Regions from separate parts of the Homo sapiens genome. Here regions 2, 3 and 4 are each linked to region 1. The links are contacts of gene promoters, found by promoter capture Hi-C in blood cells and fetal thymus (Javierre and others, 2016). All regions are on one chromosome and are shown on one strand. The core of a region is centred on a gene start or on the middle of the fragment in contact, and the rest is flanking DNA. Distances in the headings are between cores, read along the strand shown. Region 1 holds the start of CREG1 (cellular repressor of E1A stimulated genes 1). Region 2 overlaps ILDR2 (immunoglobulin like domain containing receptor 2). Region 3 has its middle 6.4 kb from the start of ILDR2. Region 4 holds the start of LOC124904834 (small nucleolar RNA U13).

Region 1 (6,859 bases), core at 766-3,265:
GGGCAATAAATTCATGAAACCGCCGACCCCAAGCTTAATGTCTTAACAGGTCCTGAACTGGTAAGTTCAAATTTGTACATGGGATATTGATAGTAGACTAACAATCCCTTTGTGCGTCTATATGAGGGACTCCTGGGCCAGTAGTTTAAAAGGTCTTGACGGGCAATAACAAATGTTGGTGAGGATGTGGGGAAAAGGAAACCCTTGTACACTGTTGGTGGGAATGTAAATTAGAATAACCGCTTTGGAAAAAAATTTGGAGTTCCTCAAAAAATTAAAAATAGAGGTACCATATGATCCAGCAATCCCACAGCTAGGTATATCCCTAAAAGAAAGAAAATCAGTATATTGAGAGATGTCTGCACTCCTGTGTTTACTGCAGCACTATTCACAACAGCTAAGATTTGGAAGCAACCTAAGTGTCCATCATCAGATGAATGGATAAAGAAAATGTGGTATATATACACAATGGAGTACTATTCAGCCATAAAAAATGAATGGGATCCTGTCTGTCTTTGCAACAACATAGTTGGAACTGGAGGTTATTACGTGAAGTGAAATAAGCCAGGCACAGAAAGACAAACTTCACACATCCTCACTTATTTGTGGGAGCCTAAATGGAAACAATTGAACTCATGGAGACAGAGAGTAGAGGGATGGTTACCAGAGGCCAGGAAGGGTAGTGGGGGGACTTGCAGGGGAGGAGTGGGGATGGTTAATGGGTACAAAAAATAGTTAGAATAAGACCTAGTATTTCATAGCACAACAGGGTGACTATAGCCAATAATAATTTAAGTGTACATTTAAAATAACTAAAAGTATAATTGGATTGTTTGTAACACAAAGGATAAATGCTTGAGGCAATGGATACCCCATTTACCCTGATATGACTATTATGCATTGTATGCCTGTAGCAAAATATCTCATGTACCCCATAAATGTATACACCTACTATGTACCCACAAAAATTAAAAATTTTAAAATAAGTAAATAAAAAGTTTTTTAAAGGTCTTGAACTTTCGGGCTTCTGCCTAACTTTACTACTAGTGTAAGTGGGCCCCTTGAGATTTCAGCACCCCAGCATTTGTTAGTGACTGAAATAATGAAAATTCTGATCAGGCCCTTGCTTGCACATGTTGACAACTCTCTTTTTGCCCAATATCCCTTGTTCCTACAACATAATCATAAACTGCTGATGTACTGTTTCTTTATCAAGCAGGAGGAGATAATAACTTCAGGGTTACGAAAAAGTTTGCAGGAGGAATAAGTCCTTTGAAGTACTTTGAGGCCAGCTTCTGTCGCCCAGAAGTCTGATTGTTCAAGGAATTATCTGAGACTGAAGAAACACAGACTTTTTCCCTCGATTCCCTGAAACTCCCCCTCCCTGACTCGCTGGCCGCATAAACACTCTCTGCTTCTTCTTTTTGTTAGGGCGGATTTGAGAGATCTTGCCCTCCCGCCTTCTCGCTTTGGCCAAATCGAATAAACTTTTATCTCCAAGCACCTATATGTCAGTGTTTGGCATCAGCTACACATGGGGTACACGAGCCTGAGTCTGGGCTTCTACAACGCTGGGACCCTCGCTGTTCTTTGGAGCTGATGGTAAATTCAACAGAAAAGAGGCGCATGGGTAGAAAATGCAGCATTTCCTCTCAGATGCCAGATATTCATCTCCAAAGGTATTAAAAGGAGGGGGTGTGTGCCTGTGTAAAGAGGCTGGTCTTTTCCTAGCAGTACGATTTGGGCAAGTTGCTTGATTTCTTCAAGCCTTTCTTTTTCCGCCTGTCAAACAAAACAAAACAAATATCCCGTTTAGGACAAATTCACAATCCTTAAAGAGGGCAGGCAGAGCGATTGGAATGCAGATGAACCAATCCCTTCTCCTGCAGGTTGCGGAGCTGCAGAGGGACCCCGCCCCCTGCATTGTGCTTAGCTCTGATTGGCGCCTCGCGGAGGGGGCGGGGCCTGGGCGCGCCGAGCTCCGGCTGGGTCCCTGCAGGTCTTGGGGCCCGGGACTCTTCCTGGAGACACCGCCATGGCCGGGCTATCCCGCGGGTCCGCGCGCGCACTGCTCGCCGCCCTGCTGGCGTCGACGCTGTTGGCGCTGCTCGTGTCGCCCGCGCGGGGTCGCGGCGGCCGGGACCACGGGGACTGGGACGAGGCCTCCCGGCTGCCGCCGCTACCACCCCGCGAGGACGCGGCGCGCGTGGCCCGCTTCGTGACGCACGTCTCCGACTGGGGCGCTCTGGCCACCATCTCCACGCTGGAGGCGGTGCGCGGCCGGCCCTTCGCCGACGTCCTCTCGCTCAGCGACGGGCCCCCGGGCGCGGGCAGCGGCGTGCCCTATTTCTACCTGAGCCCGCTGCAGCTCTCCGTGAGCAACCTGCAGGTGAGCTGGGGCCCGCGGCTTCCCCAGGCGGGCTGTGGGCGGGGCGGCCACAGAGCGAGCCTTCACTCTCCCCAGAATTCTTCCCGGGAAGTGGAGCGTGGCTCGAACGGCTGTTGCTTCTCTGCCGCGCAGGCAGGTAGGTGGGCGTTGCAGCGTCCCAGATGTTGGGCAGCTGGGTACCAGGAATTTCCCACAAGCCTCCGCCACTGGGCCACGCACCTGGGGTAAATTCTCTGCCAGCAGCCCGAGGACTTCTCATCCGTGAGTGGTTCTCAGTCGTCTTGGGGCCCAGTGTCTCTATTAACTGTGCTCCTATTCTCTTTTTTTTTTTTTTTCCCTTTGAGACAGAATCTCACTTTGTGGCCCAGGCTGGAGTGCAGTGGCGCTATCTCAGCTTACTGCAACCTCTGCCTCCCAGGTTCAAGCGATTCTCGTGCCTCAGCCTACCGAGTAGCTGGGATTACAGGTGCGTGCCACCACACCCGGCTAATTTTTGTATTTTTAGTAGAGGCGGGGTTTCACCATGTTGGCCAGGCTGGTCTCAAACTCCTGACCTCACGTGATCCACCCATCTCAGCCTCCCAAAGTGCTGGGATTACAGGCGTGAACCACCGCGCCCTGCCTGGGCTCCTATTCTTAAAGGTTTTACAGGGCATAGAGATTGTTAGGTACTTAAGCACTTTAATATGTGACTTCAGGGTTTCTCACTCTCTTACCCTTCCTGAATTAAGCTTTTCCCTCCTGCAGCAAGACGCTAACGTACAATATCATGGACGATTACAATGATTACTGCAGTCTTTAGGCCTCCACAGGCATAGTGGCTCCTCAGTAAGATGCAGAGCTGATTGAAGGTGTATCTCTTCCTCGCCCTTTGCCCACCTTCTGGTGCAGGGCCACACTTACAACTCTGATGGATCTCTGCTGTCTCAGGGATGGGGTCACAGACACCCAGCTTGGGAGGCCGGAGACACACAGAGTCCAGGAATGGAGCCTGATTTGATGGAGGGTCTTTTTGACAAAGCTCTCACATTTGAGTTCAACTCTGAAAGTACAACATTGTTGATAAAGACAGGATGCAAGAAACTGATGCTTGATTAATCACTTTTCCATTTGCCTTCCATTCGTTGTCTCTTCTATTAATTCTTTGAAGTAGGTATTATATACCCCATTCTGCAGATGAAGAACTTGAGGCCTACCTAGGTTAAGTAACTTGTTTAAAGCCAGCGGGCAAACCCCTAGTTTCATCTCAGGTTCATCTTTCTTCAAACCACCTATCACAGGCTGGTGGCCCATCAGCTGAATATGTCCCACAGACCGGTTTGGCCTACACAAAGTTCTGTTTTGTTTTTAATAAATTTGAATTTGTTACCAACATTTTAAAATTTAGATTTTACTTTAAAATGTAAATCTCTAACTTTTCTTGAAAAATGGGAAGATCCAGTGACACTGTGGGCCTGCACTCTTTGAGCAAAAACAGAAGCAGTGCCCTCTTTTAGCTAAGGCAGATACACCCCAGTTCACCATTTTCTTATTCCCAGCCCATTCCACACCTTTAGGCGTTTGCTCAAAACAAACTCACTCCACTCCATCAGTGGTGCTCAACTTTGACTGCAAATCATAGTCACCTAAGAAGGCTTTAAAAATGGGATGCCAAGGTATTTTATTGAAAGCACATTTTATTTTAAGACAACACCCCTTCCCGCCTCCCCACAAACCACTCCCTGATGATTCTAATGGGGGAGGAGGGAGATTGACCAATACATAATCATATTTAAATTTGTGAGGTGACTAGGGAGTTGCTGGTATTATTGTCCCCATTTAGGAAGTGAGGAAACACAGACTCAGAGGTGCAGGGACTTACCCTGTGACCAGTCAGCTAATGGCTGTCAGGTAGGACATTAGCCCAGGTCTTTCATGTTTCTAGAAATAGACAGGGCAGTGGCAAGGAACCTACCCAGGGCTTTAGGTTTCCATGATGGCAGTGAAAAGAAGTGGCCACATTAGAATTTGTCTGACTTGATTCCATCAATTAGCAGGTCAAAGTTTCTGCTTTTTTCTTTTCCTCCTCCTGACCTCCAGGGTGCTCTGCATTTCTTCTCATTGACAGGGGGTGAAATCGTTCAGAAGGAACAAAAAGACCTAGGTTTGGGACCATTTCTCATGTGTAAAATACCTGTCCTCTGTAACTTAGAGATATGTTGTGAGCTTCAAACGTACTTACCACTGGGCTGTTTCTTTTGTATGTCTCTTTCTTTGTGGCATTTTTGTATAGTAAATGTCTGTAGGACAGTGTTGCTGATGTTAGCTTATAGTGGGACCGTGTTTGGCTGCAGAGCCAGTGAGTCTGAAGGGAAATCTTGGGGTTTGATTATTTGCACCAAGACCTCTTACTATTAGCCTCCCTTCCATTTTGGCATTCTTTTCTTGTGATGTGCCCCTTTCTGTTCTGGTCACTCTTGGTTTTTTTTCTCTGACCCACTAAAATAAGTATCCCTCAAAGTCAGTTTCCTACTCTTTTGTTCCCTGCAGCGATCCTCAGAAGATTGTATACACTCTCGTTGTATACATTCTCTTCTAGTCCTTACTAGGACTCACTTCCAGATGTGTGTCCATTTCTGACCTCTTCAAAGTTCTCTATATTTCTGCTTGCTGTTCATTTTTGCTTCGTTACTTTGCCACCACTTCAAATTCAACATGTTTAAATCCAGTCCTTCTTCCTCCTGAAACAAGCTGCTTTTGATCTTCTGCATTTCTGTTAGTGGAATTATTGTTTTCTCAGTAAACCCAGTTGGTTCTCACTGCCTCCCCAAATCCCTCAGTTCCCAAGTCCTGACAGTTTTTTGTTGCCTTCTTTACCTCTGTCCTTGCCCCTTCCTCTTCATTCCTGCCACCTCATCCTTAAGCTTATCATCTCATGCCTAAAAGTACTAGAACAGCTCTTACATAGTCTTCCTGTCTGCCCCATCCACCTTGCCTACCCAAATAGATTAACAAAAATACCTGTCACAGCATTGCCCTCTGGCCAGAAACCTTTAACAATACCCAGCTGCCTATAGCTGCGTAAGAGCTACCTGGGATGTTTGTTTAAAATGCATATAGAGGCGGGTGCGGAGGCTCCAGCCTGTAATCCCAGCACTTTGGGAGGTCGAGGTGAGCGGATCACCTGAGGTCAGGAGTTTGAGACCAGCCTGGCCAATATGGTGAAACCCACCTCTACTAAAAATACAAAAATTAACTGGGTATGGTGGTGTACGACCGTAGTCCCAGCTATTTGGGAGGCTGAGTTGAGAGCATCAGTTGAGCCTGGGAGGCAGAGGTTGCAGTGAGCTGAGATCACGCCATTGCACTCCAGCCTGGGTGACAGAGCTTGATTCTGTTTCTAAATAATAAAATGCAGATAGAGGACAGCTTGGTGGCTCATGCCTGTAATCCCAACACTTTGGAAGGCCGAGGTGGGAGGATCACTTGAGTCTAGGATTTTGAGACCAGCCAGGGCAACACAGTGAAACTCCATGTCTACAAAAAATAAAAAAATATTAGCCGGGTGTGGTGATGCACATCTATAGTTCCAGCTACTCAGGAGGATGAGATGGGAGGATCACATGAGCCCTGGAGGTTGAGGCCACAATGAGCCATGATTGTGCCACTGCACTGGGTGGCTGCCTGGGTGACAGAGTGAGACACTGTCTTAAAAAAAATATTGCAGGCCAGGTGCGGTGTCTCACGCCTGTAATCCCAGCACTTTGGGAGGCCGAGGTGGGTGGATCACAAGGTCAGGAGTTCAAGACCAGCTTGGCCAACATGATGAAACCCAGTCTCTACTAAAAATACAAAAATCAGCTGGGCGTGGTGGCACACACCAGTAATCCCAGCTACTCGGGAGGCTGAGGCAAGAGAATCGCTTGAACTTGGGAGTTGGAGGTTGCAGTGAGCTGAGATCGCACCACTGCACTCCAGCCTGGGTGACAGAGCAAGACTCCGTCTCAAAAAAAAAAAACAAAAAAAAATTGCAGTTATTTGGGTTGGGAGTGAAGCCTGTTTCAACATTTTAACCCAAATCAGCATTTTATCAAGCTCTCCAGGCAGGTGGTTCTTAGAAAACAGTGCCTAAGGTTGGCCCACAAATTACAATCTAGACTCCTTAACTTAGGTTGGAGCCCTCTCCACTCCCAACCCCAGGCTCCTCCCGTAGGAAAGCCCTTCTTTCCAGCAAATCAGGTTTCTTGGTACTGTTCATCAAGTCTTAGGCTCACCCAGTTCTGTGTTTTTTGCAGTCAGTGTCTCCTCTCCCTTTAATATGTCCTCCCACCTTCTATCCTGGTTTTGAATATATTATAAAGCTCCTTACAGTTCCTCTATCACTCTGGTCTATGCTGGACATACACATTTGTTTATGTCTGCCTTTTCAACCAGATTATAAACTCACGGAGGGAGAGAGTTTACCTGAGTGTCCCCCTCCCCTTCTTTGGT
Region 2 (6,859 bases), core at 1,144-3,643, 590 kb after region 1:
GAATCTGAAGGCCAAGGTATGCTGAGGAATGGGCAATTCTGAGGTCAAATCCTGCTTTTGGTACTCAAAGAGTTAAGGGGTGGGTGAGCATTATACAATATTTCTAAAGATGCCTGTCTCTAATGATGATAATTTTCCATGACCTTTAGCAGCAATCTTTGTTTCTCTAAAATGGGGCTATGCTTATAGATCTGCCTCCCAAAGATGCTGGCAGGAATAGCTTACAACTAGTGGGGGAAAGGAACTTGCTTTGAAAAAAATGAAAGTGCTAAAAATAAGAATAGCATTGCCTTAGAGTCTGTGTTTGTTATTCTTGCAAGAACACAGTTCATCATATATAGAATCTTTTTCTTTACATGAGAATTGGGGCAGGACCTTTTTTTGCACATGCAGCGAGACATTGTCTGCACTTGAAGCTGATCTTCCCTAGCCTGGTGACTGGTGACGAGGTACCTACACCTGGAGATTAGCTGAGATGGGGGCTGAGATGGGGGAGAAGAGCTGTCACTCTTCACTCTACCTTTAGGCAGGTTTCCTAGTTATTGGCCAGAATCCATTCTCTGAGCTGGGGACCACCTGCTAAGAAAGGCCCCTCAGACTCACAGGTTCGGTTTTCATTCATTCATTAATTCATTCCACATTTTTTAGCTTCACCTATATTCTTTGCCTTTGCTGTATACTAGGGATACAAAGTCAACCAAATCCTGGCCCCTGCCCTCAGGGACCTTATAGTTAGAAATGAACTTTATATTGAATTTCTCAAGATGAGGGACTGGTCTTTTAAATCTGTTTTGCCAGAACTTAGCGTAGTGTTTCAAAATACATTTTTGGTCGAATTAAAATTAGATAGTCAAGGGTGGTTTTCCTGGAGGTCAGGGCACCAAAACAGTTAAAAGAATAGTCTGGTGGTCTAAGAATGATGACTCCCTCCTCTGCAAAGCAGAAAACCACCTGTGGTCTTCAATTCTAGTGCTTCTTTTAGTGAGGAATTCTTAAATTTTTTTTTTTTTTTATTTTTAGATTTAGAAGGTCTAATTTTTACAGGTATACTCTCTCCAGTATAATTCTTTACCTTGCTTCACTTCTTTTCCTCTCTTGCTCTCTCTCCTAAGGTGCCTCTCTCTAGTTTTCCAGAATACCTGCTTTAGTTTATAGGGTGAAGCACAGGTTCTTTCTGCACCTCTGTAAATTTCTTTATAGGAGTTTGAAACTCAAGTCCCATATGGTGTTACCAGTGCCTGGACTTGGAGGCCCAGCCTTCCTGTTGTACCAGCGTGTGCTTGTTTACGTGTGGGCAAGACCCTTTTTCAGTGCTTCTCTATGTCTGCCTCCCAGGAACTCCTTCAGTTACATGGCCTGATATTTGCCCAGGAGGAGGGGATAACATACTTATAGTCAAAGGGTTGGAAATATTTCAGTATGGCTGGAGCATACTGGGGGCCATGTCAAGGAGAAAGTTTTATATGCCATGTTGGGGTATTTCAATTTTGTCCTGGAGGGAATGGGGAATCGATGGAGGCCTTAAAGCAGGAACTGACATGATTGATGTGTGTTTTAAAAACGGTATTCTAGAAAAATATGGAGAGTGGATTGGGTTGGAAGTAGGAAGACCATTTAGTTGGCTATTCTCAAACCCAGGTGGTGGTGAGGACCTGTGTGAAATGATGGTGAAGATCTTTGGAGCCAGTCAGTCTAGGTTCAAACCTAAACTGTCACCTGCTAACCTTGAAATGTTAGGCAAGATACATACATACATACATTATCTGAGCATCAGTCTCTTCGTCTATAAAACAGGTGTAATAACAATGCCTACTTTATAGGATTTTGAGAGAATTCATTAGGATACTACATGAAAAGTGCTTAGCACAATCCCTGACACACAGTAAGCATTTTACAGCTATTTTCTAGTAGCAGAAATAGAAACTTGATTTAAGGGAGTGACAGTGGGAATAGAGAAAGATCAAAGTTGAGAGATATTTAGACTTAGCGACCAACTGAATGTGGTCAGGGACAGAGAGGAAATTATCAAAACTAAGATTTCTATCTAGGGCAATAGATTAAGTGGTATTTTGGCAAAAGAGCAAGGGATAGAGAAAGGATGAGTTTATAAAAAAAGAGCTAGGGTGGGAAAAGAGGAGACGATGAATGAGGTTTAGACATGTTTAATTTAAAGTGTTTGTTAAATATGCAGATGAGGCTTAAGGGAGTTGGGGGTGTGAGACATAACTGGTAGTTGGAGCCTTGGGAGTAAATCAGATTTCTTAGATCAAATGCACAGCTTATCACTACAAAGAGGCTGAAAATGTTTAATTTATCTGGAATTCAAATGTATAGTTACATATTCTTATTAGCCTGTATAGACTCCAGCATAAGAAGTACTTGTTCTTGGTACCTGGTTTTTGGCATCTGACAAGTAGGAAAATTGAAAAACGAAAACAAAACTCTAAGAGGTAGGACCCCAGCTCAGGATACTCCCCTACTCCCAGGGCAGACCTCTCGGGAATGGGAGCCAGAGAGAGGGTATCTCCAGGTCAAACTTCAGTGTCCACAGGAGACTGGCAATCCTAGTCCCCACCCAAATTAGCTACCAGTTCTGAGGGGCCTGATCTATGTGGGTCCCATGAGAGGTATTTTTTGAAGTTGGATGGATGGCAGCATCACAGTTTCAGATTTGGATCAGCCATGCATGAAGGTATAGGAAACAATACCCAACCCTCAGGAGAAGGGGCTGGTATTAGGGCCCCAGACAAGCAGGCCAGAGTTCAGGGCAAGGGTTCTCAGACCCAGTGGAGCAACTGGATTGCAAATCAGGATACCAAGGTGGAAAAACAGTCTCTAAATAAGGTAAACACAGGTTGAGAGAAAGAGATGCTGCCCAGTTGTATAGGACACCTAGACACCAGGGATCCAGGGTTAGGGCCAGAAGAGCAATTCTAGACCCTACCCTCCAGTGGGAATGGGGGTCCCGATAAACTTGGTCAGGGCAGTTTGGGGACTGGATGGCATTCATCTAACAGTTTGAAACCTGTAGTGTGGAAGCAGGGATTGGCATTTTTACTTTTATCTCCAACACTTCACTCTGTGGTTCTCAAAGATCCAATAAACTCACATTTACTTGGAATTCTAGTCCTGTCTTCTCCAGATCTACCTTTAGCTTAGAGTCCCATTGTGCCTGTACATGTATACATGTGTATGCATGTGTGCATACACGTGCAGGGTTACTCTCTACTTCTGAGTTCCAGGAGGTGCATAAGTGATGTGCAGTGAGGAGCATACCCAGGCACTGTCACTATTGAACTCCTAATGATGTATTCTAGCATTCTTGTGCAGTTTTTGCCCTGTACACACTCGGCATCTGACACCTTGATCTCTGTACTTGCGTAGCTCTAGGTTTGTAGCTTCACAGAAGTCATCAGACTGCTCTTGATAGCCTCAGCAACATTAGCAACTACATTTATTGAATGCTCACTGTATACCAGGTATTATTCTAAATACTTAGGATACAATCTTACTTAACCCTCAAACAACTCCATAAGGTAGTTACTATTATTCTGGTTTTGCCAGCGAGGAAACTGAAACTCATCAGAGTTGAGTAGTTTGCTTGAGGTCATGTAGAACCTGGATTCTTACTTAGGACTGACTGCAAAATCCATGCCTTTAAGTATCATGCTATAAAAAGGCAGATGTTTCTGAGAATGTATTTTTTATTTTTATTTTTTTGGAGCATGAGTTTATGTTTATGTCATAGAAGCTGAGAATTGACCAACCTCTATTAATAATTGATTAAGAGAGTCCAGTGGCTTGCTCAAGTGGCTAATCTCATTAACAGAGAACAGAGCTTGGAAGGAGGCTATTCTTAGTAATTATCTAATGAACAAAACCCCAAACTTCCTCTCTAAAAAAATAAATAAATCTCACTACACTTTTGTAGAGCACCCACCTGGGTGATGAAATGGTCTGTACACCAAACCACTGCAACACACAATTTACCCATGTAACAGACCTGCACATGTACTCCTTGAACCTAAAACAAAAGTTGGAAAGAAGAAAAAAAGAAAGGCTAAGAAATGTGATTTCCCAAGCAGTGCCAGAATAGCAGTGGAGCAGAAAAGGGGTGTGGTCAAGCACACAGCCTTGTATGGGAATGGTGCCTGTGAGTGGTTATCCAGCCTCAACCACTGCTAATTGAAGTCATTTCACCTCTCTTGTCCCATTCTTATTACCTGAAAAATTGAGGTGTAACTATTTGAAGAATAATTACAAGGTTAAAAAATTAATGCGCTAGAATTTAAGGAGAAACTATAAAGAAATTTATTTTCCTAATCTAGCTTCATAAGTGAGGGAGAATGGAATTAGCCACATCAACATTTAGTGGTGGTGAAGGGAAGCATGGGAACTAGGGTTCTTCAATGAGCTTCCAGATGGAATTGTTTGCCTTTTGATGGGGCTGATCTACATAATCTGGATGTAATCAAGCCTGGTGGTGATGTATGGTTATCAAGATTCAGGATGGGAGGTGAGGGGAAAGTTTGGCAAGGTGAGGGAGAATTAGCATTTGAGACCTACTCTTTACCGGTCACAGTGCTCTTCTACTGAGTCTCCTCTCTGAAGGTGCCCAATGAAAGAATGTTTGTTAACAACTCTGAGAGTAAGCATTATGGTGCTCATTCTATAGGTGAGGAAAATGAGTCTCAGATTGCTTAAGAAACCATCATTAGTGTATGGTCAGATGAGATTCAAAGCCATTCCTATTTGATGCCAACACTATTTTACTACACTTCTGACTCATTTAACTAGTTTCATCTGCAAAGTCCTAGAAATTCCCATATTAATAGCCATTCACTTGCTCATACATTTCTTCATTTATTCTGTAGGTAGCTATTGAGCACAGGGTAGGTCCAAAATGCTTTGAGATTTGATAAATCTCAAATACTCTGTTGTATTCGCTTCCAGATGTTACAGAATGCAGAAACCCTTTTCCCCAACAGGAATTAGGACCTACTTTTTCATTGTTCCTTTCATTGAATAGAGACATTGGTCTGGATGTCAGAAGATATGAGTACAAACATGTATCTTGCCCTTGTCAAGGGTCCTTCAGTAAAGAGGCATATTCATAAATAAGTTTATGCTTTAGCTGTGGGAGTGAATTGGCTTTGCAGGATGTCATTGTGAACACTGGCACTAATAAAGGACAGGACTCCATGGAAAGTAGTCCTTTTTTGCATGTCTCTGCCCCAAGCTACTTGAAGCTGACTTAGCAGTCTCCTGGATTCAATTTGGAACTTCTTTATCATATCTTCATATTCGTTTTTTCTGCCTCTCATCATATTTCTATTTCTGCTTCTAACCTCACATCAAGCTAGAAACTCTTGACTCTCCCATTCAACTGAGAAAGTTATGTTCCCTTTGCTTGGAATTTCTAGATCTTATCATTGAGTTCATGTGGGACCTTTGCTTCTCAAACACTCCCCTCGTCTCTCATTCACTGAAATTTCTCATTCTTTCTTGGTCACCAAGCATCAGGTTGGATCTTTTTACCACTTAAACTTCTCATCTGCTTTTTAGCCCCCACTTTTTTTCCTTCTTTTGATTATCCTTCAAAGCTTTGAACTTAGTCTACTGCATTTGATCTGAAATCCTCCATTTCTCTCAAAGACTTATTTTCCTTTTCATCTCTGTCCCCTTTGCTGGGTCACCACTGGAAGGGAAGTCACTTCCTCCTGAAGTGATACTTCCTGGCTTCATTGTCATTATTTATCAAATATTTGTTGAGTACCTATGGGCTTCACAAGCCAGGGCAGCAAGGGAAGATACCTTCCACACCTGACGAGTCTGACAGGCCTGACAGGCATGAAAAGAAGTACTCGGAAGACTGTGAGAGTAAATGTTTAGAAGAAAATGCTGGGTGTACTGATAGCACAAAGGAGGAAGTGATAAACTTATTGGTCAGAGAAGGCTTTACAAGAAGCCCTTGAACTGGGTTTTAAAAGATGCAAAAAGTTGCCCAAGCAAAGAAGTGAGGAAAAAGCATCCCAGAAACAGGAGACATCATGTGCAAAGACCTGGAGGCATGAAACAGGATATCCCACTGGGGAAGCTATTAGTTGTTTGATATTCTTGGAGCTTGGTGCTCAAAGAGAGGTGTTTCAAGAGGTGAGAGGTGAGGCTGAGGCGGTAAGAGGAACTAGATGACGGAGTACCTTGCCAAGGACTTTGGGTTTTATCCTGAGGGCTATGGAGGATGAGTGAAGGGTCTTAAGAAAGAGAGCCATAACAATCAGTTTAGAAAGATCATCTGAACTGTAGCAAGAAGAGTGTACTGGATGTTGACAGATTAAAGGCAGGGAGACCAAACAAAAGATTATTGTAATATTTTGAGGAGGAAATGAAGAGAGTCTAAGGAAAGGCAATAGTAATGGGGTTAAAGAGGAGGGAAGAAATATTAAAGATGTTAAGAGATTAAGTTGATGTGACTTAATGCGTGACTGGATATAGGGAGTGAGGTTGTATTGGTCCGCTCTCACACTGCTATAAAGAACTGTCTGAGACTGGGTAATTTGTGAAGAAAGGAGGTTTAATTGACTCACAGTTCCACAGGTTTAACAGGAGGCATGACTGAGAAGACTCAGGAAACTTACAATCATGGTGGAAGGCAAAGGGGAAACAAGCACCTTCTTCACATGGCAGCAGGAGAGAAAGAGAGTGAAGGGGGAAGTACCACACACTTTTAAACCATCAGATCTCGTGAGAACTCACTCCCTACCACGAGAACAGCACAGGGGAAACCCACCCCCATAATCCAGTGACCTCCCATCAGGCCACTCTTCCAATTTGATGTGAGATTTGGGCAGGGACACAA
Region 3 (6,859 bases), core at 1,675-4,174, 570 kb after region 1:
TGATTGTGCTGTTCCCTTGTTTCTGGTACTCTGCCCTGCAAACTCTATCCACTGTGGCGCACCTTGACACCCACCTCCATCTCCTCAACTCAAGGAGACTCCACTGGGCTCTGCCTAGGTAACCCATTGTGATACTGCATTCCGGTACTCTCTCCAGGCAGCTACCTGTGGCAATCACAGAGCTCACCTTGTTTGCTGTGGTTCTTTCAGGGGTTACTCATCTCTACTCCCCAGTGTCTAGTGTTTGGAAACATTGTTTCATATATTTTGACCAGTTTTTTTATTAGGTTGGTGCAAAAGTAATTGCAGTTTTGTTTCAAGCTACTGGATACATTCATTTCCTGTTACTCCACCTTGGGCAAGATGGCTTTTTCATAGTTTAACATTTTTAAAACCATATCTAGATTTAACTACCAAATATTTAGATGGGTGAACAGGGCAAACCTCTATGAGGAGCAGGTGGCTTTTATAATGGGAAAGGATGGACGGAATAGAGCTAGTCATGTGAAGAATTGAAAGAAGAGAGTTCTAGACAGAGGGAACAGTATGTGTAAAAGCCTCAGGTGATAAAGAATTGGGTGTCTCTTCAGAACAGATGGAAGACTAGTTAGTGTTGCTGTACTGTATCTAGTCAGGTGAAGAATGGTGCCTGCTGAGGTTGGAGTGATCAACAGGGATTTCGGCTTGACCATGACCATTGTAAGGGGTTCGAGTATTGCTCTAAGTACAATTGTTGTTCATTTAGGGGGGTTATTTTATATTTATTTATTTATTTTTAATTGACAGATACAAATAGTATATATTTATTGTGTACAACATATTTCAAAATATGTATATGTTGTGGAATGGCTAAATCGAATGACTTAACATATGCAGTACTTCACATACTTATACTTTTTTGTGGTGAGAACACTTGAGATCTACTCTATTTAAGGGTTTTTAAAAAACATGTCATGTTTTCTATTTGGAGAAAGGGTTCAAAGCATTAAGAATGGGCATGGTGAGACCAGTTAGAAGGCTCCTTCAGGAGTCCATGTGGGTGATGATGGCAACCTCGAACAGAAAGGAAAGGCTGGGCTCAAATTGTATTTTGGGAAAAATAGAACTAGCTAATGGATTGGTTGTAGGAGTAAGAAAAAAGGAGGAGTCCTAGGATTTTGGCTTGAGTAACCCATGGGCACTTAGTGCTTTTACTAAGATAGGGAGGACTTTGGGGCAGAGGGAGACAGTGCTAATGCCAAGGAGGGTCCAAGGTCCAAAGCTCCCAATAATTTCTGTTATCTGCTCCTCTCCTCATAGGTCCATTTTTTTTTTTTTTTTTTGAGACAGGATCTCATTCTGTCAACCAGGTTCGAGTGCAGTGGTGCAATCACAGGTAACTGCAGCCTCAGTCCCATGGGCTCAAGTGATCCTCCCACCTCAGCCTCCCGAGTAGCTGGGACTACAGGTGTGCGCCACCATGCCCAGCTAATTTTTGTATTTTTTGTAGAGACGGGGTTTTGCCATGTTGCCCAGACTGGTCTCATACTTCTGGGCTCAAGTGATCTGCCTGTCTCAGCCTCTCAAAGTGCTGGGATTACAGGTGTGAGCCACTGCTCCTCTCCTTCTTTGATAAAATTGATTTTTTTTCTATTTTACTTAAGTCCTACATAAACAGAACAGCTTTCCCCATTTTCCAACCAGATTGATTTTTTTCTATTCAGAAATTCTAAAGGGTGGCAGGTTTGGGTTGAAATATGTGGAGGGGGTGGATCAAGAGTTCTATTATGGACATGTTCATTTTGAGATGCCTACTATATATTCAAGTGGAGATGTCAAGTAGGCAATTGACCATGTAAGTCTGGAGTTCTGGGCTTGAGAAAGAATCCAGAAGTAAGCCACATAAAGATGGTATTTAAATTCATGAACTAGATGAGATCATCTAAGGAGAGAGTGAAGAGAGAGAAAAAAAGGATCCAGGATGGAGTCCTGAGGAACACTAGCGTTTAGAAGCCAGAGAAGGAAGACCCAGTAAAGATGACTGAGAAGAACATGTGAAAAAGTAGGAAGAAAGGCAGGAAAACCAAGAGAGGGGAGTGATTCCAGTAGCAAGTGGTTCATTTATTCAATAGATATTTATTAAGAGCTCACTGAATACCAGCCTCTATTTTAAGCACAATAGGTTGAATAGAAAAAAGCTTATAGTGGAAAAAAACCCAGGTAATAAATAAATAAACTATTATGTATATAACAAGATGTCAGAATATCTTTTTGGACAATAAGTCCAATGAAGAAAAATAATGTAAGATAAGGGAATAGCAACAGTTAGAGGGTACAATTTTAGGGTGGTTATTAAAGGCCCTATATGAAGAAATGAAATTTGAGCAACGACTAGAAGGAAGAGAGCAAGCAAACCATGAAGATATCTGGAGAAGAGCATTCCAGGCAGAAAGAATAGCAAGTGCAAAAGCTCTGAGGTGGGAGCATATCAGGTATGTTTGAGGAAAAGCAAAGTAAGTCACATGGCTGGAGTAAAGTGAGTGAGGGGGAAAGTAGAGAGAATATTAGAGAGGGAGGTAGGGCCAGATCATACAGGATTTACAGGGCCTCCATAAGGACTTTAGATTTTTGTCTAAATTGGGGGAAACCACTGGAGATTTGGATGACTATTACTTTTTTTTTTAATTAAGTATAAGGTGTGATTTTCAACCAGGTACGTGTTATGCAAACCACTGAAGAGCACCACAAGTGTTCTTGGAAAATGTGGCTGAGTTTTTTCCTGATGGTAGTTTAAGTGAAGGCCAACATTATTCAGCGTGCATCTTCCCTCCTGTGCTAATAATAATAATAGTAGTAATAATAGGTGACATTCATTGCAAGCTACATCCAGCTTTCTGCTAAACACTCCACAAGGGTTATCTTATCTCCCCTTCACAACAACCCTATGAAATAGATTCCATGATTATCCACATATTGCAGAAAAGGAAATTGAGGCTTAGAGTGGTGAAGTGACTTCCACATGCCACACAGCCTTTGAGTGACTTTGACATCTATGAGATCCCAAGTTAACACTCATTCCAATCTGTTTATCTTAGATGTTCAAGGTTATTACCTGATGCTTTGCCAAAGTTAAGTGATAAATTTCTGAGTACCATCTAGACATTGTTTGAATGTGCTCTCAGATCTTTAGTAACTCAACCTGATGTCTGGTTGATTCCTCCTGCTTGCAATATACATGTGAATTCTACCTCTTGTGACTCCTTGCAATGTCTTTCTCAATTGATGTTAGCATTCTCTTCGTGCTGCCCCTTGTTAGGTGCTTGTTACTTCTTGAGCTCTTGTAATGAGCTCTCCCATGGAAGAGACCTCAATCTGTTGTCTCTGTCTCCATCAATTCATCCTACACCCTGTGGCCAGAATAACTTGGTTGGGACACAGGTCTGATCTTGTTCTACTTAGAAATTCTCATGGATGGTACATTGCCGGTGGAATTACATCCAAATCTGCTATCCTGGTTTCCCTTGGTTCAACCTCAGCCTACCTTTCCAGCCTTATTGCTGACTCTGCCTTTTGTAAACCTATGCTCTGGGCAGCAGTTCCTATTCTCACCTCTGCCTATTGCTTGTGCATCTGTACTACCTCCTGCTCCCTTTCTGCCCCTAGAAATTCTGTCCAGATGATGTTAAAGCTTAGCTCAGGGGTCACCTTTTCATGAAGATATCTCTGACCAGGACTACTGATAACTAATTGACCCTCCCCCACTTAATTTTCCTACCATATTTGGTACATGTCCTAATACAGGCCCTGTCACACCATCATAAAGACCACATATTTGCCTCCCTCCCTCCCTCTCTACACACATGGAGACAACTCAAATGTAAGCTATTTGACATAAGGGGCTGTGATTCATTCATCTTTGAATTCATATTCGTTTTTAATTTCTAGATAGCATAGTGTCTAGAATATAGTAAGTATTCAATAAATGTGTGGAATAAATGAATGAATTCAGGGAAAAGAAAAGGAGAGATGACGAAAAGGTAAGATGAATACACTGGGGGCAGTTTGTAATTAATTAGACAAGTACACATTGATCATCTCTATGTAAAAGGCACCTACTCAGAATTGGGGAAGGAGTACAGAATTAACACTTCTATGAGAGATCCTCGCCCCGCTACTTCAACACAAAGGTCAGGGCTGCTGTTTTCTAACCCTGGTCTTTAAAGCCCACATGCCACTTCTCTTGCTTGAGCAGTTTCTTTTCATGGTGCTCCATGTTCTGGCCTTCTCATTCTAGCTCTCTTCCCTGCCCATTTGCTGGGGGTGAGGTCATCAGATGACATATTTGTTCTGGCTCATTTCCCTCTCTCAGGTTCTGTCTTTGACCTATGCCAGGAAGAAGGCCTTTAGGAGAATGTGTAGGGCTGAGCTCTGAGAAACAATCTTCTGGCTAAATCACCAAGACCCAGAGCCCAAGGCAGCTTCATCGTGTAAACTGTAGGGCAGCCAGTTACCCTTTCTTCCTATAGCCTTTTGGCTGTAGGAAGCTGCTTGACCACTAGTATAAGAATTGCTCTGCTGCTCATCTGGGGGGCTGTCAATGCTCTTCTGGTCTCCAAAGGATGCTAACCATGAAATAAAAACAGAAACAAAAGCAAAAACTGGAGACAGGGCTCCTAAAAGAGCAGTAACCTTCATCTCTGGCTCTGTAACTTTCAGAGAAATTATAGGTTGCACTGTCAGTAAAAGCTCCCAGGGCTCAACTGCTCATAATTAACTTGATTAACTGCTCACGAATGAGACATAATGAGAGCAGGTGTACATGTGGGGGCTTTGTATCTGGCTGAAGATACAGGCCTGACAAAACACCTGTCACTCCTTCTCCTTGCTTCTCTCCTTTCTGCAGGGATGTCCTAGAGACTGGAGGACAAATTCACAATGAGTAAATTTTGGCATGGGCACAGCTTTTGTCCAGCACCTTTTCCTATATTATAGAAATATTAGAGGGTATAGAAAATTATAGGCTGGGCACAGTGGCTCAAACTTGTAATCCCAGCACTTTGGGAGGCTGAGGTTGGAGGATTGCTTGAGGCCAGGAGTTTGAGACCAGACTGGGCAACATAGCAAGATGCAGTCTCTAAAAAAAAAAATACAAATTAAAAATTAGCTGGGCATGGTGGCATGCACTTGCAGTCCCAGCTACTTGGGAAGCTGAGGCAGGAGGATAGCATTGAGCCTAGGAGTTCAAGGTTGCAGTGAGCTACGATGGCACCATTGCAGTCCAGTCTGGGTGACAGAGTCAGACCCTGTCTCTAAAAGAAAGAAAGAAAGACAATTATAAAGAAAAAATATAAATGAATGATGATCTTCCCAGAGATAACCATTGTTACTCATTTATTTCCTTTGTCCCTTTTAAATGTATTTTTTCATATTTGATACCAAGCTCTAAATATACTTTTATGTTCTTTTTTTCTGCACATTATCCTTGGATGGACCTTTTTAGGGAATGCTTTGGTAGAGAGCTAATTCAGGCAAGGGCTGCCCCCACTGTTGAGCAGGATCTAGCTTTAGGATGGGGCACACAAAGCATCACCTAATTCAGCACCCAGCACCACTGCAGTTGGATTTGAAGCCTGAGACTGCAGGTTCTTGGATTAAATCTGCTGGAAGTACATGGAATTTTCAACACATTCTCCCAGGCTTTTACCTTTTTAAATTTCTAGATAGTGTGGTGTCTAGTGTCCACTGTTCTTGCCAGTTCAGATTTTGTTTTGTTTTGTTTTGGCATAATGCATTTGTATACTTGCATTTCCTTTCTTTAAAGCATTTTCTTAATCAAACAATTTATTCAACATGAAAAGACTTCAAGATTGAAAATGTTTTTGGTTTTCAGTATACGGTGCCTAGAGTCTCCAGTTTTTTTAGTTCCTTGGTTTTCTGGGTTCCAGTTTTTTTAGTTCCTTGGTTTAATTTAGTTTTTTTTTTAACTTATAATTCATTGAGGATGGTTTTGAAGGTATGGAGGATGGGAAAGATAACAAACCCAAAAGGTAGCAAGAGAAAAAAAAAGATGGACCAAACTTACATGAGAAAAATGGTATCTGTTTCAGAGTCATACTTCGTATATTCCTCTTGGAATGCAGGATCAGAGAGGAGAAGTAGAAATATGATTTTATCTGTGTGCTTTAAACAGACTCACGTTAAGCAGTATTCATGTGCATGCATGCCTGTGTGTCTGCAATGAAATCATGTTTTAAAGAGGATTCAGCTACATTATATTTATAACTATGTGGTTGCTACCAGCTACCAGTATGTCTCCTTGTGGTGGTTCACTTCTCTTTTCTCTGTGTCCTAATTCTGTTCTCTAGTGTAGAGCTTTGCTGAAGCAGCCTGTTAGTCCCCCCACCACATACAATCCCAGCTGTGGCTTCCTGGGAATCTTGTTCTGGTCCCATACAGGTCATTGTTGTGACATGTTTGTCTCATTGCAGTAGAAAGTTTGAAGTATTGCAGAGCCAGACCCCTTCCTTGGCTGTGATGAATCAATCTCTCTATTTGGGGTCCTGTCCTATTAGGTCAGAATGAATGAACAACTGGAGCTTAACCAGATACAAGGCTCATTAGAAAACATCAGCTCAACAGCTTCTCAGGAGAACAAAAAGATAGGTATTGCTTCTTAAACATTACTGTGCATTGGAAGCACCTGGGGAAAGTGGTTAAACTGCAGATTTATGGGCTCCACCTGGAGTTTCTGAGCTCATTATTCTTAGTAGAGCCTGTGAATCTGTGTTTAAGCAAACACAGTAATATGATCCTGATACTGGAAGTTCAGAAACCACATTGGGACTCTGGGTGCCATATCCCATCACCCACCACCAATATG
Region 4 (6,859 bases), core at 2,039-4,538, 520 kb after region 1:
CCCCAAAGCAAAAATAAAATGTGATTATATTTGTGTAGCCAGTAAACACCATTATGAAACAAAGAAAAATAATTTCAAATGACTTTATTTTATATTTTTTCATGTCAGATGGGTAATGTGCCCATGCTATAATAAGGTTCGAGGGTGGCACATCTCACACATGCACATACAAACTCAATCATCACACTTAAGCTACAAAAGCAACCTCGAGTGACTTTTTTTTTTTTTTTTTTTTGAGAGCATGTATCTGATCTTGGCTCACTGGAGCCTCCACCTCCTGGGCTCAAGCAATCCTCCTACCTCAGCCTTCCAAATAGCTTAGACCACAGGCGTGCGCCACCATGCTCAGCTAAGTTTTTTAACTTTTTGTAGACACAATCTCTCACTATATTGCCCAGGCTGGTCTCAAACTCCTGGTCTCAAATGATCTTCCTGCCTTGGCCTCCCAAAGTACTGGGATTACAGGAATGAGCCACCACGCCCAGCCTTCACATGACTTTAAAACAGCAATTTGGCCACATATTCCCATTGAGATCAATCCTAAGGACAAAAAGAACAACAAACACAAAAACAAAACCTTGAACTGTTCTCAGTAGTCATATTGTTGGTGGTAGAGTTGGTATTGCTATTTTGAGACTACTGTGTTGTAGGATAAAGAAAAGTGATTATTTGGTTTCATTGAGAACTATATATTTTTGGTGTGGTTGAAAGGAGATATAGATGCAAGATTGATAAGTTTAAGTAGGAACCTGTAGACCTGTATTTCATTTGGCATGAAATCATGACATTTTTCATCTTAAAAACATATTTTCTAGTTCTGCCTGCTGAAGAAATCCAGACAGAATTTCTGACTGTAGTCAGGCATCCCCAAGACCAAACTTAGGTTCAGTGATTCTCTAGAAAAACTGGCAGAACTCAGCAAATATGCTGTACTCATGGTTACAGTCCATTACAATGAAAAGATACAGATTAAAATAAGCAATGGAAAAAGGCACATAGGGCAGATTGCAAGAAAGACAAGATACAAGCTTCCATTTTTCCTGTCCCAGTGGAGTCATATGGACAGCCTTAATTTTTCCCAGCAATGATGTGTAGCAGCGCATACAAGGTAGTGCCAACCACAGAAGCCTTTTTTTTTTTTTTTTTTTTTAAATCTGGGGTTAGTGATGTGGGCATGAATTTCCAAAGGTCAACTGATACTGCATGGCCCAAGGCATCTATCAAAAATCACATTGTTAGCATAGACTACCTGGTATGGTACTATAGACTACCTTCCAAGGTCCTAAAGAAACAGACATTCTTACCAGGAAAGACATCCCAAGGCCTTCAAAGTTATCTCCCAGGAGTTGGTCAAGGGCTAAACTTTCTGTGGAATGTACAGGGTTTGGGCAACCCATGCCTGCTGAGTTAATCCTTTGCTGCAAACTGACAGCAAGGCACCACTAGTACACAGATTGTGGTAAATACCATTGCCAACAAACAAAAATAGGGCTTTTTGGAGAAATGGCTGAATCCAGGTCTAGGGAAGGTGAGCCTAGAATATATTCAACTCAAACAACTCAACAGGAAAAAAACAAATAACTTCATTAAGTTATTTGTGAGCAAAGGACGTGAATAGACGTTTCTAAAAAGAAAACATACAAACAGCCAACAGGTATATGAAGAAAATGTCCAACATCACTAACAATCAGAGAAGTATAGATCAAAACCACAATGAGTTATCATCGTACCCCAGTTAGAATGGCTATTAAAAAGGAAAAATATAAAGGAATAAGGAAGCTATCAAAGATTATTAGAATTGTGTCACTAGGACTCAGATGTCAATCTAAATAAGTTTCCACTGGCCAAAAGACAGGATGACTTAAGCAATGATAATAAAGATAATTATTACAGTAAAAACTTTAAAACCACATATCCATTTTTATAATGATACTAAAATAACCACAACAACTCACTGGTGCCCTTTGGAAGATGCTAGGAATAACCCACATTATTAATTTAAAAATAGGTAAATAAAACATTTGTTCTCTCTTTCTTAAATGATTAGAAAAACCAGATATTTGATATGGTGTGTTGGCAGAGGGGCTTCTCTTTGCAAAAGTATTTCCGCTGAAAAGAAAAAGAAAAAGAGAATGGGATAGAATTATAGTATCGTTATGTTTCAAAACCTACTGAAGTAGTGGATTTGGACAATGATCATCACCCTCAAAAAAGAAAACAACAGAGACTGTCCCTCCTATTAGAAATACAAACACCACCCGTAAAGGCCTGAGGTGGGGGAAAAATGTGACTAAGTATCTAGATGTAATTACCAGTTCATAAGTGATACAGGCCAGAGGAAAACATGTTAAATGATCTTTTAGGGCAGCCATGCAGTCAGCAAAATCAAGACTATAGGAAACTACAGTACAACTATGGAAAATTACAGAGCTTGTTTTATCACAAAATTTTTTAAGTTTGCAGAAAATGAAGGGGAAACCTACAGAATAAAAGAGACATATCAATAAATTAGAATATATGATACTTATTTGTATCTCAATCCAAACAATCAAAGTGTAAAACAAAAAGCAAAATCAAAATCATTTCTAAGACAAGTGAGAAAATGTGAAGACTGACTACTGAATAATATTAAGGCATTATTATAAATGGATTTTAGGTGTGTACTGAGATTGCCTGATTTTTTGGGTTTGTTTTTGTTCTTTTTAGTCCTTATCTTTCGAAGGCACAGACTGAAATCCTTATAAATTAAAATAATATGTTTGAAATTTGCTTCAAAATAATCTGGTGGGAGGTATAGGGAATGGGTGGGGGTATAGGTGAAACAAAATTTGCCATACTTGTATTGATAGCTGTTTAATCAGGGTGAGAGGTACACTAGATTCTTTATATGTTTTCTCTACTTTTGTATGTTTGAAACTTTCTATAATAAAAAGTTAAACCAACAAAAACAACAATAAAAACAAAAGCCCTATATCAAATAACAAGATGGCCCCAGCATTTTGATTGAAAAAAAGTATAGGGAATCTCCCTTCCTTCCTTCCTCCCTCCCTCCCTCCCTTCCTTCCTTCTTTTTTTCCTTCCACAAATATTTATCCATTATCTACTCTGTTCCAGGCAATGTAAAAACAGCAGTGAACAGCTATAGTAACCAAAACAGCATGGTATTGGTATAAAAATAGACACATAGACAAATGGAACAGAATGGAGAACTGAGAAATAAAGCCATGTATTTACAGCCAACTGACCTTTTACAAAGCCAACAAGAACTTACATTGGAGAAAGGATACTCTCTTCAATAAATTGTGCTGGTAAAATTAGCCACATGCAGAAGAATGAAACTGGACTCCTAGCTCTCACCATATACAAAAATCAATTCAAAATGGATTAAAGCCTTAAACATAAGACCTGAAACTATAAAAATACTAGAAGAAAACCTAGAGTAAACTCTAGGACATTGGTCTATGCAAAGAATTTATGACTAAGACCTCAAAAGCACAGGCAACAAAACCAAAAATAGACAAATGGGACCTAATTAAACTAAAAACTTTTTGCCCAGCAAAATAAATAATAAACAGAGTGAAGGGACAACTTGTTGAATGGGAGAAAATGTTTGCAAACTACCCATCTGACAGGGTACTAATATCCAGAATATAAAAAGAACTCAAACAACTCAACAGAAAAAACAACTCCATTAAAAAGCAAGCAAAGAATGTGAATAGCTATTTCTTAAAATAAGGCATACAAATGCTCAACAGGTATATGAAAAAAATGTTCAACATCACTATCAGAGAAATGCAAATCAAAACCACAATGAGATATCATCATACCCCATACCCCTTTTTATAATGGCTACTATTAAAATGACAAAAAATAATGGATGCTGCTGAGTATGTGGAGAAAAAGGAATTCTTACACATTGTTGGTGGGAATGTAAACTAATACAGCCACTATGGAAAACAGCATGGAGATTTCTCAGGAAACTAAAAATAGATTGACCCAGCAATCCCACTACTGGGTACCTACCCAAAGGAAAAGAAATCAATATATCAAGGAGATACCTGCACTCACATGTTTATTGCAGCACTATTTACAATAGCAAAGATATGAAATCAACCTAAGTGTCCATCAGCAGATGAATGGATAAGGAAAATGTGGTATATATACATGATGGAGTACTATTCGGCCATAAAAAAGAATGAAATCATGTCATGTACAGAACACTGATGGAACTGGAGGTCATTACCTTAAGTGAAATAAACCAGACACAAAAAGACAAATATCACATATTCTCACTTAAATGTAGGAGCTGAAATATTTGATTATGTGGAGACAGAGAATAGAAAGATAACAAGAAGGGTAAGTTGAGGGTAGACAAAGTTGAAGAGAAGTGGGCTAAAGCACCCAAGTGTACACTTATATAGAAATAATAAATTTAATGTTTGATAGCAGAGTAGGGAGACTATAGTTAATAAAAACGTATTATACTCAGGTGATGGCCACCCTAAATACCTTGACTTGGTCACTATGCATTATATATATGTAATAAAATTTCACATGTACGCCATAAATTTGTCCAAATTAAAAAAAAAGCAGTGAACAAAGAGAAAGACAAATTTCTTTTCCCTGTGGTGGGAAAAGGTAATCCTAAAAAAAATGAATGAGTAAAACAAAGTATGTCCAATGCTTATAACTACAATGGTGGATAATAAATCAGGCCAGGGGGCTACAGAATGTGGATAACTGCTATTTTGAAGAAGGGGTCAAGACCTCATTGAGAAGGTGACATTTGTGTCAACACCTGAGGAAGGTGAGGAGAGAGGTATGCAGATATCTACAGGAAGAGTATTCTGGGCAGATGAACCACCTAGGGCAAAGGCCTTGAGGCAGAAGTGTGCTTGGAGTATTTAAGGAAGAGTAAGGAGGACAGTGTGGCTGCAGCAGACGGAGCAGAGGTGTGTGGGAAGCAAGGCCAGGGAGATAGTGCAGGGTCTTAGTGGCTACAGAAAGGACTTTGACTTTGAACTTTGACATGACTTAAGATGAAGAACCAGTACAGGTTTGTTTTTTTTAAGCAGCTTTATTGAAGTATGCATTAATTTCCTGGAGCCGCCAAATAAATTGCCATCAATGTGTAGCTTAAAACAGTAGAAATTTATTCTTTCACAGTTCTGGCAGCAATAAGTCTGAAATTGGGATATCTGGAAGCTGAGCTCTGGGGAACTATAAAATTTTGAGAAAGGGAGATAATGAAAAAGCAGCTAAGACTGAGGAGCAACCAATAAGGCAAGAGAGAACCAAGAGGATGCGTGGTCCTAGAAGCCAAGTGAAGAAACTGTTTCAACTGTGTCTACAAAATATTGCTTATAGGTCAATTAAGTTGAGGACTGAGACTTGGACCATTTGATTTAGCAATGTGGAAGTCACTGGTGGCCTTGATAAGAGTAATTACAGTTAAGTGACATGGACAAATGCCTGATTGAGTTCAAGAGACAATGGGAGGAGAGAAATTGAGGACAGGAAGAAAAGATAATTCTTTTGAGAAGCTTTGCTCCAAAAGGGAGCCAATAATGAAGCAGTAGACAGAGAGGGGCTCAAGGGTTATTTTTATTTTTAATGAGAGAACTAATTGTACAGTGATGGGAATGATCCAATTGGGAGGGAACCGTTAATGATGCCAAAGAGGGGAGAACTGCTGGTTCAACACTCTGAGTCTGGGATAAGATTTAGAGAAGAGGAGAGTTATTGGCCTTAAGAGGAGCACCAACAAGTTATTCATTCTAACAGGCAGGGTTGAGGATGGAGTGGGGGACACAGCATATGGTGGTGAGAGCTTATAGAAGTTCTCTTCCTCAGTGAAGTGTGAAGCTAAAAGTGAGGATGGGAAGGAGATGTCGGCATTTTAAGGAAAGAAGAGAAGGTATGAAAGAGTCATCTAAAAGAAGAGTTAGCGAGTGAGTGGACTAGGAAAAGAAAAGCATGACTTGAGAGGCAGTGGATGAGGGAAATGCAGTAGTGTTAAGGGCCTCATTGAGGGTGGTGGTCATGAATTCACAGTGAGACCAGGTAGCATGGCAGTGTGCTTTTCTTCAGCGTTATTCAGATGTGTAGGTGTTGGTGTGAAGTGGGCAGAGAGTTGTGTTTAGCAAGGCTTTAGATTGTGCCACACAATTATTTAGTAAGGGAAGTGGGAATGTATACCAGGGAGTGATCATAACACTTGATTGTGGACTTTGAACATGGTAAGGGTCAAAATGTGAACAAAAGCATTGTATGACACAGGAAAAAATATGATTAAATTAATGGGTTGTAGGTCCCATTAAACCTACAAGTTCAAAAATAGGAGAATTGTTTAACTTGGGGTGCCAGAATTTATGAGCTAAAAATGGAGGTGGCGAGCAGAGAGTATAATGTTGAAATGGAAGGTGTGGAATTGTGATATTGGTATATGTCTAAGAAAGTGGACAGTAGAAGCAGGGTGAAGGGCAAATTCCTGAGGAGAGGATGTCAAAGAACCAAGACATCTGATCCATGAGAAGATCATCTCATGGAGACTGAACTCTCCAAGAACTAAGGCAGAAGTAGTGTTGGAGAGTGTGACAGAGCTCAGAGCTAAAATAATCAAAGAATGAGTGGGAGTGATCTGGTGGAGTAGATGACAGCAACAATGAGGAAGAGTGGTGACATAACTTGTCAACCTGACCTTCCCCTGAAGTAAGTCATAAGACCCTCATGTGAGAGGTGCCCTTCCTGTACCTGGAGGAAAAGGAAAGGAACATCCTTATCTCTGAAGATCAAGAGATGCCAAAAAGCATATGAACAGGCAGGCCTCGCTAAGTTTCTCCCAGTTCATTACCATTAG

What was found. The method cuts DNA at HindIII sites, captures the fragments that hold promoters and counts their contacts. A CHiCAGO score of 5 or more calls a contact.
Region 2: a contact is called between a fragment that was not itself captured here and the fragment with the promoter of CREG1 in region 1, in 1 of 17 cell types (total B cells). The highest score is 5.4, in total B cells.
Region 3: a fragment that was not itself captured here is called in contact with the fragment with the promoter of CREG1 in region 1 in 1 of 17 cell types (fetal thymus); the score reaches 6.4 in fetal thymus.
Region 4: a contact is called between a fragment that was not itself captured here and the fragment with the promoter of CREG1 in region 1, in 1 of 17 cell types (fetal thymus). The highest score is 6.2, in fetal thymus.

The regions. Positions count from the first base shown.
Region 1 is chr1:167,548,918-167,555,776 of GRCh38, reverse strand. CREG1 (cellular repressor of E1A stimulated genes 1) reads left to right here and starts at 2,015. Exons shown (of 4, transcript NM_003851.3): 1 at 2,015-2,389. The coding sequence starts at 2,036. RefSeq lists a silencer at 1,877-2,326. The HindIII fragment of the contact is 3,087 bases long and covers 36-3,122 here.
Region 2 is chr1:166,958,293-166,965,151 of GRCh38, reverse strand. The region is part of intron 1 of ILDR2 (immunoglobulin like domain containing receptor 2); the gene reads left to right. All of the region lies in intron 1 of LOC124904449 (a long non-coding RNA gene), which reads right to left. Among named protein-coding and RNA genes, the nearest start is that of ILDR2, 14 kb to the left of the region's middle. The HindIII fragment of the contact is 6,424 bases long and covers 1-5,605 here.
Region 3 is chr1:166,978,465-166,985,323 of GRCh38, reverse strand. It overlaps a transcript of MAEL not described here. Among named protein-coding and RNA genes, the nearest start is that of ILDR2, 6.4 kb to the right of the region's middle. The HindIII fragment of the contact is 1,490 bases long and covers 2,180-3,669 here.
Region 4 is chr1:167,034,780-167,041,638 of GRCh38, reverse strand. LOC124904834 (small nucleolar RNA U13) reads right to left here and starts at 204; the gene lies at 103-204. The HindIII fragment of the contact is 4,515 bases long and covers 1,031-5,545 here.